Regions from separate parts of the Homo sapiens genome. Here regions 1, 3, 4 and 5 are each linked to region 2. Evidence: promoter capture Hi-C in 16 types of primary human blood cells and fetal thymus (Javierre and others, 2016). All regions are on one chromosome and are shown on one strand. Each heading gives the region's core, a stretch centred on a gene start or on the middle of the fragment in contact. The rest is flanking DNA. Distances are from core to core; before and after follow the strand shown.

Region 1 (2,700 bases), core at 7-2,506, 1.6 Mb after region 2:
CAAGTCCAACATCAATGGCATGGAAATATTCTCTGCTCACAGTGGGAGGACACTGATTTTATATATATATATATACACATATACACACAATCTTATTATAGGGGACTGAAGAATTAAGACCAATAATCTAATCTGCAAAGCACTGGTTTTGAATTGTCCGTAGTCTGTCTGTGCCCAGAAATCTATAGACCTTTAGAAGAAAAGACAGCAGTATACCAGCAGGAAGTACACATCAGATTGTTTCCCCAGTATAGCGATGGATTTATTTAGACTTACGTCTTGTTTATCTTCCTGTCACCATGTAGCGTTCACAAAAGGAACTACAAATATCAGGATAGCAATCCGTGATCATGTTGTTGAGATTTTGCCCTTACAAAACTCTCCCATGTAGAGTCAAACATGGACTGCTTTCTTATCATAGTCACGTTGCAGCAGGAGCCTCTTATTTTATTTCTATAAAATTTCTGAAATGTTCTTGCAAACAGTACACATTTGATAAATATTGGTTGAAAGAGTAGGAGGCAGAGTACTAATATGGGAGAAATTAGAAGGACACAACCAGTAGAATTCTCACAGGTTTCTGTGCTTTTTCAGCATGGGAAAGTAAAGTGTTATATCACACTCGACATGAATGCTATGGAAATTTATCATCTGAAATAAATATGTGATCTTAAAGGAATATTAACTGAGAACATTTAGCTTCTATGTGGCATTATTTAAGCTAACAAAATAGCCTCGCACTTCCCTATATTTCTTCACCGTTATTGTAAGGCTTTTAAAATCCCTTCTGGAAACCTCAAGTTTACACATCCCTCTACTTAATTTTTCATTGTTTATGTGCTTCCTGTGACGATAGCTAGACAGACAAGGCTGATAAAAAAGAAAGCTTGTCCTTATCAAAGACTTACGGGTAACTGTGTTAATGTGCCTTGCTTTTTCTACCAGTGGAAGCCCCCTATTTCACTAAGAACTCACCCATTTGCAGCATTTAAAATGGATGGAAAGTTATAAGCCAGCCAAAATGTCCTTCTAAAAGAATGAAATGAATACTAATCTAATTGCCCAAGAATGCATATGCTGGGCTTGGAAAATAAGCCTTCTACATTGGTTCCCCCTGCTGGATTTGAGGATGCACTGTCTTGGAAATTGATGAAAGCAATATACCTGGACCGTTTTATCTGAGGACATGTTACTGGAATGGCAAATCCAGCATTCTTCTAGAAAGCATTTGCTCTGTGATAAATGTGCCAAGTGTTTCTTGAGTTTGCTTCCCCAGGGCAGAAATACTGCAAATAGAAAACAGTGCCGCTGAGACTCAAAGAGAAAACAAAAGCATGCCACTCAGATGTCTGTTCTAGGGAGGGGGGTAGCACACAAGGAACTAAGGGTAAAAACCCAGAAGCAGTAGACTAGGTAAACTGCCAGACTGGTTGTTACTATTAGAAAGCTGGATTTCAGGGTCTGACCATGGATTTCCTTCTTATGCATTTACAACTATTAGAACCAATTCCTCACCTTTCTGTAATTTAACTGCTGTTTTTCTTTCCCTTCTTATCTTCCTCACTTCATAAGTAATCTCCCTACCCCTACTCTGTAGAAGATGTGGTAACCAGAGTACTTTCAAAGGAAGCTTGTCACCTGCAAACTTCATGGCTATTGTGAAATGTGTTAAAAGGTCTGTCTTTTGAGGGAGACAGAGAAGCTGGCAGATTTTTCCTGCTTGACTCAGAGTCCATTTGGTGGGAGGAAAGGGACAGATATTGGCTAAGTTTTTGGCACATGCTCCTGCACCAACTTGGCCTTGTTAAGACAGCAAGAACAGCAGAAGTGACTATTTCCTCCCTAGAGCAAAGGCCAATGCTGTTTCCTTCATGGAGAACCAGAACAGGGAAAATATCAGATAATCATGTAGTACTTGTAAATATGCCATTTAGAACACTGAATTTAAGTGGCATGCAGAGCCACCCCAGGTTCTCATATTATATTCAGGCCAGGTGTGGTGTCTTATGCCTGTAATCCCAGCAGTTTGGGAGGCTAAGGTGGGAGGATTGCTTTAGGCCAGGAGTTCAAAACCAGCCTAGGCAACAAAGCAAGACCCTTTCTCTCCAAAAAAATAAAAAATCAGTCAGGCTTGGTGGCATGTGCCTTGTAGACCCTGCTACTCAGGAGGCTGAGGTGGGAGGATCGCTTGAGTCCAGGAGTTAAAGGCTGCAGTGAGCTATGAACATGCCACTGCACTCCAGGCTGGACAACACAGCAAGGCTCTGTGTCTATTAAAAAAAAAAAAAGTAGTTATATTGTGTCCACCGTCACAAACGGCACAGGGCTAACCCAACACAGGGGGTCCTGTACGTATATTTATTAACTGCATTCTTCGCCAACCTCAGAGTATCATTCTTTTTTCTTTTTTTGTCCTTCTATTATAAACTTTTTTTCCCCATTTAGGTCAAATCTAAATGTTTCCCCATCTGAAACTTTCTTCAGTAGGTCGTTTTCCAGAGCTGCAGGTAAAATGCTTCCCCACTGCTTCTGAGGCTTTTGTTTCAGCTCTGCTACTAGTGGCCTCCTCTTGGGAGGATTCTCTTGCCTCGGAATTAAGAGTTGGTAGGAGGAGGAGATGGCGGGTCAAAGCACTCAAGCAAGACAACGTTAAGTGATTCAGTCCTGCTTGTGGGTCAGGAATTTTTAAAGGGCTCAGCT
Region 2 (2,700 bases), core at 39-2,538:
AAAAAAATCAATTTTTTTTCTTTTAAATTCTAAATAAAATAATAAAAACAAACCCCCCAGATGTTGAGAAGACATGGATGGGCCTGTTGCACTCTTTACCTATATGCAACCATTTTGTTTCAGACCTAATTCAGTGAACAAAATTTTTTGAGAAGATACATTTAACTACTTTTTCAAGCTTTGTAGTATAAATGCATTTCTTCCAATATAAGATTTTCCTATTATAAGTTGCAAAGAATGGATCCTCTGCAAAACCCACTTGATAAGGGCTCTACTCATTTATTTTTCTTTCCTGCTACCCCAAACTCACTGCATACATCAGGCATAGCTTCCAGGGTGAGCTTTGTTAGTTTTTCTGAGTAGACTTAGCCATTTACTATGCTAGTCACATACTTCACTTGCCTAAGCAATGGATTTTGGTGTTCTATTGAAGAGGGAATATGGTTTGGAAGAGTGTCTCCCCCTCCTCTGAGTTCAATTTACTAGTTGAGATTTGCAAGCCTGAAATGCTTGAAGCAGCTCAGGCACGATAGCAGTGCAAGCTTTAAAATCTAGGTGTAGCTGTTAATCCTTTACAGAGGCACATAAGTCTCCAGGAGTAGCTCGGCTAGCTGTGAGCAAGATGTATGCTTTTCATGTACTGCGTACTCATGGGCTGAGGGATTATTGATTTTCTTTCACAGTTGTAAAAACAGCAATTGGTGATCATCCCACACGTACAGTACACACCAAGTTGCTTTCCTATCTGTGAAGAATCTCCTTGTATTCTTTAATATTTAACATTGAACTTTCCAACTTGCTGTTTTCCATAAGGCTCTTTTCACATAGCAATTACTCAAGACAGAAAATAGCCACTTACTATCTTTTATAAATGAAAGAAGGTTCTAAGAAACTTCTTACATTCAGCCATGATAGTGAAATTTTTCATTGCTGGCTTGCACGCACATATATTGCTTGTTGTGGTGACAGAGCAAACGTTCCTATTTGGATTTCTCATAGTATCAAGTCGTTTCTTTCTAGAGAGTAAAACCAAGCAAACTTTCTGGGACAATCATAAGAAAAAACATGGAAAACACTTACCAGGAAGACGAGAAAAAGCAATCCTATATACACTGCCGCTATAGCTGTAATTCCATTGACAGTGAATTGGAGTAATAGCCCTCCCCCGTCTCCCAAGCTCTGCGTCCAGTCCACACAAAGCCCACGGCAGCTGCAGGCTGAGCTTGTCCTGCTTCAGATCACTCCTACACTGAGGAGTGAGCGAGGGAGAGCATTCCAGTTTACTGCACACAGCCCACCTCCAAGTCTGAAGTTTAAAGCTTCACCTCGCAGTGGCTGAAGAAGGGGGTGATGTCATAGATGGGCAGGACTTAGCCAAGATCTTGTTCAGTGAGGTAACTGGATAATCAGACAGATGAGCTTTGCAAACGCTAGAGGGGGCGAGAGCAGCCAAAATGAAGCATCAGCCTGCCAAAGCTAGGATGCCATTTGGTTTGTAGGCAGCCCTTTGGAATCTCAACATTTTCTAAAGTTTACTACAAGGCAGTGGTAGCATACTTATGTATTTTTTTTAAAAAGCATGTTAGAAAGATATTTTTAAGATCACAATAGAAAAAGACAGGCTTTGTCTTATTTTTAAACCATCTGTATTGAAAAGAAGTTAACCAAAATCAAATTAGTTTTATTATTCACTAGCTAAAATAATGTTATAATTGTGGAAGATGTATGCCAGTAATCCCAACTGTGAATGTTTATTCAACATATGAATAAACAGCAGATTCAAATATATACATCAGGGCTGGGTGTGGTGGCTCACGCCTCTAATTCCGGCACTTTGGGAGGCCGAGGTGGGAGGATCACCTGAGGTCAGGAGTTCGAGACCAGCCTGACCAACATGTAGAAAAAATTAGCTGGGCGCCCGTAATCCCAGCTGTTTGGGAGGCTGAGGCAGGAGAATCACTTGAACCCGGGAGGCAGAGGTTGCAGTGAGCCAAGATTGCACCATTGCACTCCAGCCTGGGCAACAAGAACGAAACTCCATCTCCAATATATGTATATATATACACGTGTCACTGATTCATTTAGTTATGGGAAGGGCAATAGGAATGCCAAAAGATTTTTTTAAATGGTATTAAATGGTCTGTTCTTTTGGAGGCGAAGAAGTTACTGTTCTCTATGTTTTAGAAAATGAAAGTATGTTTTATGTACTTCTGCTACGTGTTTATATTATTTAAAATGGATTATTTATATTTAACGATCCCCCAATAAAATGTTTTTAAAAAATTTAATAGAATATTTTCCTTTCTAAATGTTTTTGCTGATCTGAGCATGGGTTTAGATATAAACATCTTAAGAAAAAAATCTTTCAGGGTGGTTTGCCTGGATTGAAATTATTTTAGTTTAATTTAGGTACATGAATAAACACTGGACAATTGTAAGACGTGGAGATTATAAATTTCTATGCCTAATTAACAGAATTATACTTGTATTTTTAATTATGATTTTTGTAGACTGGTTTCTGCTATTTGGTCAACAATTGCTTTGTGCCCGTAAGTTTTCCATCAAATAAGTGTATTTCACTTGTTCATGTTGGTGGTAAGAACTTAGCTTTTATATTTACCTGGAGGACCGTTGTCTTAAACTAATATCTTTATTTGCTCTATTCTTAGAGGTGCATGACCTTCTCCTTTGTCCTTTCTC
Region 3 (2,700 bases), core at 200-2,699, 1.0 Mb after region 2:
TATTTAGGAGCAACCAAGAGAAGAATATAGGAAGTCTCCAGAGAATTCTATATACTTGGGCTTAACTATGGTCAAAGTATTGCCCTGAGGCCACTTTTAAAGCACATTTCTGATTCAAATAATGGTTTTGACATATGTTAAGGAAAATGTTGGCAACAAATCTAGAGATGAATTGAAGACTTATTCACTTTACAAAAATATTTCTTCAACATGCAAAAGCATACACCTCTGGAAGTCTATATTTCAGCTTTCCCTAGTATTGACTAGTAGATTCTTACTGAGAAAAAAAATGAAAGAAGTAAAAGTAGATACATTTAAAATTAAGGCATTAAGACTATGCATGGTGGCTCATGCCTGTAATCCCAGCTATTAAGGAAGCCAAGGAGAGAGAATGGCTTGAGGCCAGGAGTTCAAGACCAGCCTAGACAACATGGCAACAACCTGTCTCTACAAAAATTTTTTAAAAAATTAGCTAGGTGCGGTGGTGTGCACTTGTAATCTTACCTATTTGGGAAGCTGAGGCAGGAGAATAATTTAAGCCTAGGAGTTTGAGGCTGCAGTGAGCTTTGATCACACCACTGTACTTCAGCCTGGGCAACAAAGCGAGACCCTGCCCCTGAAAAAAACCCAGTAATAGGAAAAAAAATACAATTAAGGCATCAAAAGTGATTGATAGTTTAACATGCCTTTAACCTAAAAGTAAAAAATCTATTACATTATAATGTAAATCAATAGAAACATGTCATATAATTTACAAAATGTTGGTGAACATACACCCTTTTGAGACACATGTTTTCTGCAGATCAACGCAAGTTGCACAGGTATAACTACTGACAAATGGCCTCCAGAAGTTAGAGCAGGCATTGTTAATTTAGGGCTATATGGGTTCCAAGAGTCCCAGCCAATGTCAGACTAGGATCGGTCAACTCCTGGAGTTACGACTTGGCTTGTATTTTGACATTTTTTGTGTTCATTAGTTGGAGGATTTGGGTGGCAGTAGGAATGGAATCTCTAGGGTCAGCATCCCTGTAGTAGGAATTTGAGTCTGAAGGAATCCTTGAATGGATATCAGTGGATCTATAAAAACTTTAAAATCACGGACAAAAATGTATGGGATGGGGACAAGCCAATAATATGGTTTAAATATTTCTAATCTTTTATTTTCTGGTCAGGGAAGGTCTTTTATTAGCTTCTGTTAGATTACGACCAAGGATACTCGATTGAATTGCAAATACCAGAGGACTAAATTACTGTAATATAGTAAAAATGTGACTTAAAACATTAAATGGATTAAGGAGAAAGCAAGAAAAGAGTGAAAGTGGGGAGGGGAGTTTTCGGAGGGGTGGAACTTCATTGGTGGTACGGGAATATATGTGACCTTATTATGGAAATATTCTCTATCACACACCCACCTTGAATCTGTGTGAAGAGCAGAGGGCGCTTTGCTTTACTATTATCTTTTTTGCTGTGCGATTTCCACCGTATCACTTAATATCTTCCAGTTGTTTCTTCATTTGTGTTCCTTGTGTTTTGCTACTGACCTCCCTTGGAGGGATGTTGTAAGGCATAAATCATTAATGATTATAAAGTGCTTTGGAAATAGAAAGTATTGCTTCAGTGATAGCCCAGATGCACCTAGGAATTGCAGCATGAACAGTACAAAGCAAAAGGCATGTTGTCAGAATTCCTTTTGGGGCTCCGGATCAGCCAGGCCTTCCGCTCACATCAGGGTGAATTAGGGCCATGAATCTGAAAGTACATCTGATACTGCTTGGCTTGTACGTGCTCTTGTTACAACATTATTTTGACATTTTTTGTGTTCATTTGTTGGAGGACTTTAAACCCTTTTCTAACCAAAGGAAACCAAAGTGCCTACTGCAAGCATTTTTCAAAGATGGTGTCACTCTGATTGAGGATAAAAAATTGATCTACTAAATAAAAATGTTGGAATGGCATGTTTATCTTACTTGTTTGGCCAGATATAAGTAAGGCAGTGATTCAGAAGAAGGCTTCATTAGAATGCACCATTTATCTAATACTTTGACAGTCAGTGATATCTTCTCTCTCCCTCTGCTGTCTCTCTTTATGAAACCAAACACTGACCTGTCTTTAGCCTACAATATCAGATACAAGAAAACAGAGACCAATGGAAGTAAATAATCCATCAAGTTAGTGTTAAAGATAAGACTAGAAACTGGGTGTTTCATCTCCCAGTTCAGTACTTCTATATATCTGAGTATTCTTTGATCATTTCTAAGAAGATACCAAGCAGCTTTAATCAAACATTCATCCTTCCTAAAAGGACCTGAGATTTTTATTCAAAGATTCCAGAATACCAGTTATTCATAAAGCTGCCTGTCCATGCATTTAGAGTGTGATAGAGATCAACTGTAACATCCGTCATGTTACTACACTCCAAGATTGATTTCTGTGGTCTACTTGGTTTGATGGAAAGTCCCTTCTTCCCTTACAGTCTACATATCTCCTTTAAATATGACTTTTATAGATCGAGGTGAATACATGATTAACTACATTTTCCTCCTATTCATTTATCTATGTATAGAAAAATGTGAGAAAGGAGCAGGAATCTAAATAAACTCCTAAATTTTCAGTCGTTGAGGTATGCACAGTTCAAAAGAGATACTTGTAGACTAAATTATCCAGATGATAGTAAAAATTCCCTATTTTACATTCCAGATG
Region 4 (2,700 bases), core at 80-2,579, 1.3 Mb after region 2:
TAGACACCAAAAGGTTAAGGAGAAATTACCTAGATAGACTGGGAAGAAGAAATGACAGGTGGAAGAAACAGCCTGGGCAAAAGCACAGGGGCAGGAAACAAAGATGGTATGTATGAAGAGTTACAAACAGCTTGGTTCTATTACGGCATAAACATGAGACAAGAGAGGAAGTCATAGAGTTAGCAAAGGGCTGAAGGATCTGCCATGCTAAGGAGTCAGCAATCCCCACATTAGGATGCACAAAATGATCCACTGAGACACAAGAAGAAAATATTAAAGTTTGTCTTTATATTTCTCTTTGATACTGTTTTTTCTTTCCGTTTTTGGTAAAGCTTTAAAATATGTATAGCATACAAATGCAATAACAGAGGAAATATAATTCTTGTGGGAAAAGTATGTGCTAAAATTATTTTACTGATAGGGTCTGGATGAATATAAGTTTGCAGGTCACTACCGTAAGTAATGGAGAGACAATAGATGATTTTTTTTTTTTTTTGAGATGGAGTCTTGCTCTGTCACCCAGGCGAGAGTGCAGTGGTGCAATCTTGGCTCACTGCAACCTCAGCCTCCCAGGTTCAAGTGATTCTCCTGCCTCAGTCTCCCAAGTAGCTGGAACTACAGGCGTGCACCACCGCATCGGCTAATTTTTGTATTTTTAGTAGAGATGGGGTCTCACCATGTTGGCCAGGCTGTTCTCAAACTCCTGACCTCAAGTAATCTGCCCGCCTTGGCCTCCTAACCCAAAGTGCTGGGATTACAGGCATGAGCCACTGTGCCCAGAGGACAACAGACAATTTTAACTGAAGGCTTTCTTGGCGTATGCATGTGTCTATAGATTGTTCTCAAAACACTGTAATGGATGACGGCAGAGGTGTAACACTCAGGGAGGGAAGTGCACTGAGGAGATTGCTGCCACCAGGGAATTTAATGTTGATGAAGATAGAAGCCAAGGCTGTGGAAATAAGAGAAAGTAATAGATTAAAATAATTTTTAGGTGGTTAACTTAATAGGGCTGGTGATAGATTGGCCATGATATTTAAGAAGCATCATCTCACTCTACATGAGCTCCAGCCACAAGCCTTCTTGCTATCACTTGAATAAGTCCAATACAGGACTCCACAGGACCTTGGGCCTCCTTTTTCTGCTCCTGGAATGCTTTCCTTCATCTTTGCCTGGCTGGCCTCCTCATTTATTTCTCATCTCTGTGGCAATGTCCATTCTTATCATTGTGGCCTTCCCTGACCATGTTATACAATTCCTCAATACTTCCTATCAACCTTAGTGAGCTCCATGGCATACACATCTGAGAAATTCTGAAATCACTTCTTTGTTGTATAATAGTGTAACATTAGGGACTTTGTCATTTGTGTTCATTGCTCTTTCTCACGCGACAGTGTTTGACACATAAAATGTGCTCATTAAATAAAGGAGCAAATAGATACATAGATGAACAGGTAGATGGATGGGTGGATGGATGGTGGATGGATGGATGGATGGATGGATGGATGGGTGAAAGAGTGACTCTTATTAAACTTATCCCTTAATGAGACCATTAGAGAGATGGAATGTTTCCACTGAGAGATGAGAAAAAGGATGTCCTAAACAGATTAGAAACTTGTCTAAATTTATCCTATCTGTTAAAACTCTTTACTTAGTCTATAAAGAGGAAACCAAATAAAAATGGCTTATGTAATAGAGGAAATTTATTGACTCAGGTCACTGGATAGTCCAGAAGTAGAACAGCCTCAGAATAGCTTGTTTTAGAAGCTGAAGAATGTATCTGGAACTGGATCTGTTTCTTTCTTTCTTTGCTTTTTTCTTTTCTCCTCCCCTCCCCTTCCCTCCCCTTCCCTCCCCTCCCCTCCCCTTCCCTCCCCTCCCCTCCCTTCCCTTCCCTTCCTCTTTCTTTCTTTTCTTTCTTTCTCTCTTTCTCTTTCTCCTTCTTTTTCCTTTCTTCTTTCTTTCCTTCTTTCTTTCTTTCTTTCTTTCTTTCTTTCTTTCTTTCTTCTTTTTCAGTGTTCAAACATTTTATTAAATCGGATAGCATTGTTATTTCCACATTGTTGCACATACTGACTTGTATTCAATTATAAGAGTATAGCACATGTTTACAAAGGTATGGCTGAGCAGTCAGTTGGTAAGTTTAAAATTTCAAGAGCGCTCCAAGAGCAAACACAGTAAAGACCATGCAAGTTCCAGAGTCGTGAATTATGACAGAGCTCACTCATTTTATTCCTTGCCTGCAGTTGTTCCAAATCTCATAGCCTCAACTCTCACTGTCCAGACACAGAGAAAACATCTGTTTCCAAAATCCCATTGAAAGTCCTAAGCTTTGCCTTACTTGGGGCCACTTCTGAGTGACTCACAGAAGTCATTAGGTTGCTATGTGGCAATTAGTTTAGGCCTGCGATTTCTTAACCAATCTCTGTGTCAAGAAAGATAGTACCACTCTGATTGGCTTAGACAAATTAGGGTCTACTTTTTGAGGAGGGGATCTTTGGGGAGGAAGCCACAATGTCCTTTATAGGCTTGGAAAAAAATCTGGGTGTGTATTATTGCAAAGCCATTTAAGACTGTGTGTTTCTTTATCAAGAATGCTTTCCATAACCCAAAGATGTCACATATACAAAATTTGAGCAGAAGATTTGCTTCTAAAATAGTTTCATATCTTTTGTAATTCTTAATTATGGTATACATAAA
Region 5 (2,700 bases), core at 6-2,505, 1.3 Mb after region 2:
GTAATCCCAGCTACTTGGGAGGCTGAGACAGGAGAATGGCTTGAACCTGGGAGGCGGAGCTTGCAGTGAGCCGAGGTCATGCCACTGCACTCCAGCCTGGGCGACAGAGTGAGACTCTGTCTGAAAAATAAAATAAAAAATAAAAATCATAGGTGATGCTGCGCATTTCATTCACATCAAGAGGTTCCCATTGTTATTTGTGGTGCCATGTTTGGTCACCTGGTTTTGATGTTTGTCGCAAAATTATCTCGATTATGAAGATACATTTTCTCCCTCGTTTTCAATTAGTAAGTGATCTGTGAGTTGACACTGGCGTCATTGCCTAGCTTGCTTACCCAAACCTGAAGCTTGTATTATCCATTGATGAGCCTTTTCTAAATCACTCCAGTAGGGTTAGCAAAATGGTGATTCTCTAATTCTATCATTCCTTCTACATAGATTAACTAGTAGGCTCCTGTAAATAACTTTCATTTTTTAATATGCTTACAGAAAGAAGGTGTATTTGAGTGGAGCATGACCTAGAAATAGCAAATATCTAGCTACACATAAACGTTAAAAACCCAAGAACAGGAAAGAAATTTAGAGAAACTAGAGCATTTAGAGCTAGAAGGGACCTAAAACAATATATACTCCAACCTTTTAACAAGTGAAAAAAGTGAAGTCCAACTATGTTGTTTATTTTTATCTCATAACTAACTAGCTTGATGTAACAGATCTTTGAATAAAAGGAAACACATTGTACACGGGTGCAATGAGGTCAAAGTACGAATATAATTACCACTGATTTGTTGACAACATTGTTTGCTGCATTATAATTTTATAGGATAATAGGAGATTGCTTATTCCAGCCTCAGTAAGCATTATTGCACACATGAAATGTGCAGGGTATAAGTTTTTATATTTTTCCTTCATTATGTGATTGCCAAGGCTTTATTTCTAATGCTAAGATATTTTCACTGGGTTTAAACTGAGCCGACTTATGTACCCTGGTTCTTTCCTACTCTTGAAACTGTCAGTAATGTCACAGTGTCTCATAGCTGGAAATGTAGTAACCACATCACTCCCCCCAACTCCTGCTCCCTGATTTTTCATTAGGATGCAGTTTATTAATCCAAGTAAAAATATGAAAGCCTCCTATGATTAGGTTTAAGCCTAATATATGATCCTCCTTCCTGGAAGGGCACTTTGAGCTGGTCATTAGGGAATGGAGAGAACGGGTATCATTAGGGAATTTGCCTGGCAAGAGCAAGGCCAAGACTGGAAGGAAAATTGGATTTTATTTGCCAAAGCCGAGGTAATGTCCTAAATAAAAATTTCCCCAACCAGGAAGACCTAAGAAAATTGTCAAGAGGTAGAGTTTAGAACCAGGGGCACAAAGGGCAGGTGGGAGAATAGGCTGGGGGAAGACTGGAGTGCTACCAACAACTAGCTTTATGTTTTCCTTTATAAACACGTATTGAGCACCTACTATGTGACAGGCATGGTGCTGTGTGTTTTGTGTGCATTACCTAATGTAATCCTCACAACAGCCTAGAAGTCAGTACTTTTATTACCCTCATTTTAGAGATGCAAAACTGAGGCAACTTACCTATGGTCACCCTGTTAATAAGTGTTGGGGTGTCCCTGACCCCTGCACTTTTAATCAGTAGGTAATATGTAGTACCTTTCTCTGGCTTGTAAATGTTTTCTTGCAGAGAAAATGGGAAGCAACTATCTAGATTGGAAAGGTTAAAACGAAGGAATCGGAAAGCAACAGTTAAATAGAGTTAAATGGCTACTTTTCCCTCTCAGAGTTTTGGAATACCTATGAGCTTTCAGCCATAAAGCCAAGAAGGTTCTGGCTGGCACGACATTGTCCCCGACTAATGCTAGGATGGTGTTGTCAAACAGAGGCAGAAACAGAGCCCTATCCTGTTTCTGCTCAGTTGCCCATTTCAGTCTCCGTCCTGATGCAACACGAACTTCTACAGACAGACTCAGGGTCTCCAGAAAGCAAAGCCTTTAGGAATTAAAGTCATCTTTGCTTTTAAATACTTGTTTCTCCCATGTTAAGGACACTTTTCTAGGCAAAAACCTCCTGATTGCCTGTTGCTGTGGCATATCTTCACAAATTCATTTTTCATAAATGTCCCAAATACATCTGAGACATTTTTTATAACTTGTGTAAGCTTCCAGAGACAAATGTTAAAGATGACAGTTTGGAAATGAAGACACATAAAACATGCCTTGGGAAATAGAAATCCTAGGGCAGCGACCTCAAATTCAGTCCTCTGTTCCTTTTTAGTCAATATATTGAATATCATATTCATATATATCATATCAACATCATATGTATCGAATATCATTGTATGCTGCAAGTCTAAAGAAAGAGAGACTAGAAGTGAAGAGGTCAAGGTTTCAGCCATCCATGGACCTGTGAAGGCTTGACTTTGAAATAGTCACATGATCACTTTGGCTATTAGTTTTATCACTTCTCTTATCTTGGTCTGAAGATCTGAGCTGTGTTTTATGATAAAGAAAAATGTATAAGCTAGTTTTTGCTGTATAACAAAACAACTTAATCACTTAAAACAGTAACAATTTAATGTAGCTCATGATCTGGTATGGGCTGGCTCAGCTGATCTCTGCCTGGGCTCTATCATGCAATGGTTGTCAGCCAGTCCCTTAGCTGGCTGCTGGGTAATCCAGGATAGCATCAGC

What was found. Contacts are between HindIII fragments. The CHiCAGO score rates a contact against its expected background, and 5 or more counts as called.
Region 1: a contact is called between a fragment that was not itself captured here and the fragment with the promoter of FLRT3 in region 2, in 2 of 17 cell types (endothelial precursors and naive B cells). The highest score is 8.9, in endothelial precursors.
Region 3: a contact is called between a fragment that was not itself captured here and the fragment with the promoter of FLRT3 in region 2, in 1 of 17 cell types (M2 macrophages). The highest score is 5.6, in M2 macrophages.
Region 4: a contact is called between a fragment that was not itself captured here and the fragment with the promoter of FLRT3 in region 2, in 3 of 17 cell types (fetal thymus, total B cells and naive B cells). The highest score is 5.8, in fetal thymus.
Region 5: a fragment that was not itself captured here is called in contact with the fragment with the promoter of FLRT3 in region 2 in 1 of 17 cell types (total B cells); the score reaches 5.5 in total B cells.

Annotation. Positions count from the first base shown.
Region 1 is chr20:15,929,372-15,932,071 of GRCh38, forward strand. All of the region lies in intron 10 of MACROD2 (mono-ADP ribosylhydrolase 2), which reads left to right. All of the region lies in intron 1 of LOC613266 (a long non-coding RNA gene), which reads right to left. Among named protein-coding and RNA genes, the nearest start is that of KIF16B, 640 kb to the right of the region's middle. The HindIII fragment of the contact is 744 bases long and covers 885-1,628 here.
Region 2 is chr20:14,336,324-14,339,023 of GRCh38, forward strand. FLRT3 (fibronectin leucine rich transmembrane protein 3) reads right to left here and starts at 1,289. Exons shown (of 3, transcript NM_198391.3): 1 at 1,081-1,289. All of the region lies in intron 3 of MACROD2 (mono-ADP ribosylhydrolase 2), which reads left to right. The HindIII fragment of the contact is 777 bases long and covers 541-1,317 here.
Region 3 is chr20:15,341,437-15,344,136 of GRCh38, forward strand. The region is part of intron 6 of MACROD2 (mono-ADP ribosylhydrolase 2); the gene reads left to right. Among named protein-coding and RNA genes, the nearest start is that of MACROD2-AS1, 410 kb to the left of the region's middle. The HindIII fragment of the contact is 7,820 bases long and covers 1-2,700 here.
Region 4 is chr20:15,647,242-15,649,941 of GRCh38, forward strand. The region is part of intron 8 of MACROD2 (mono-ADP ribosylhydrolase 2); the gene reads left to right. Among named protein-coding and RNA genes, the nearest start is that of MACROD2-AS1, 720 kb to the left of the region's middle. The HindIII fragment of the contact is 1,998 bases long and covers 331-2,328 here.
Region 5 is chr20:15,668,445-15,671,144 of GRCh38, forward strand. The region is part of intron 8 of MACROD2 (mono-ADP ribosylhydrolase 2); the gene reads left to right. Among named protein-coding and RNA genes, the nearest start is that of MACROD2-AS1, 740 kb to the left of the region's middle. The HindIII fragment of the contact is 1,821 bases long and covers 346-2,166 here.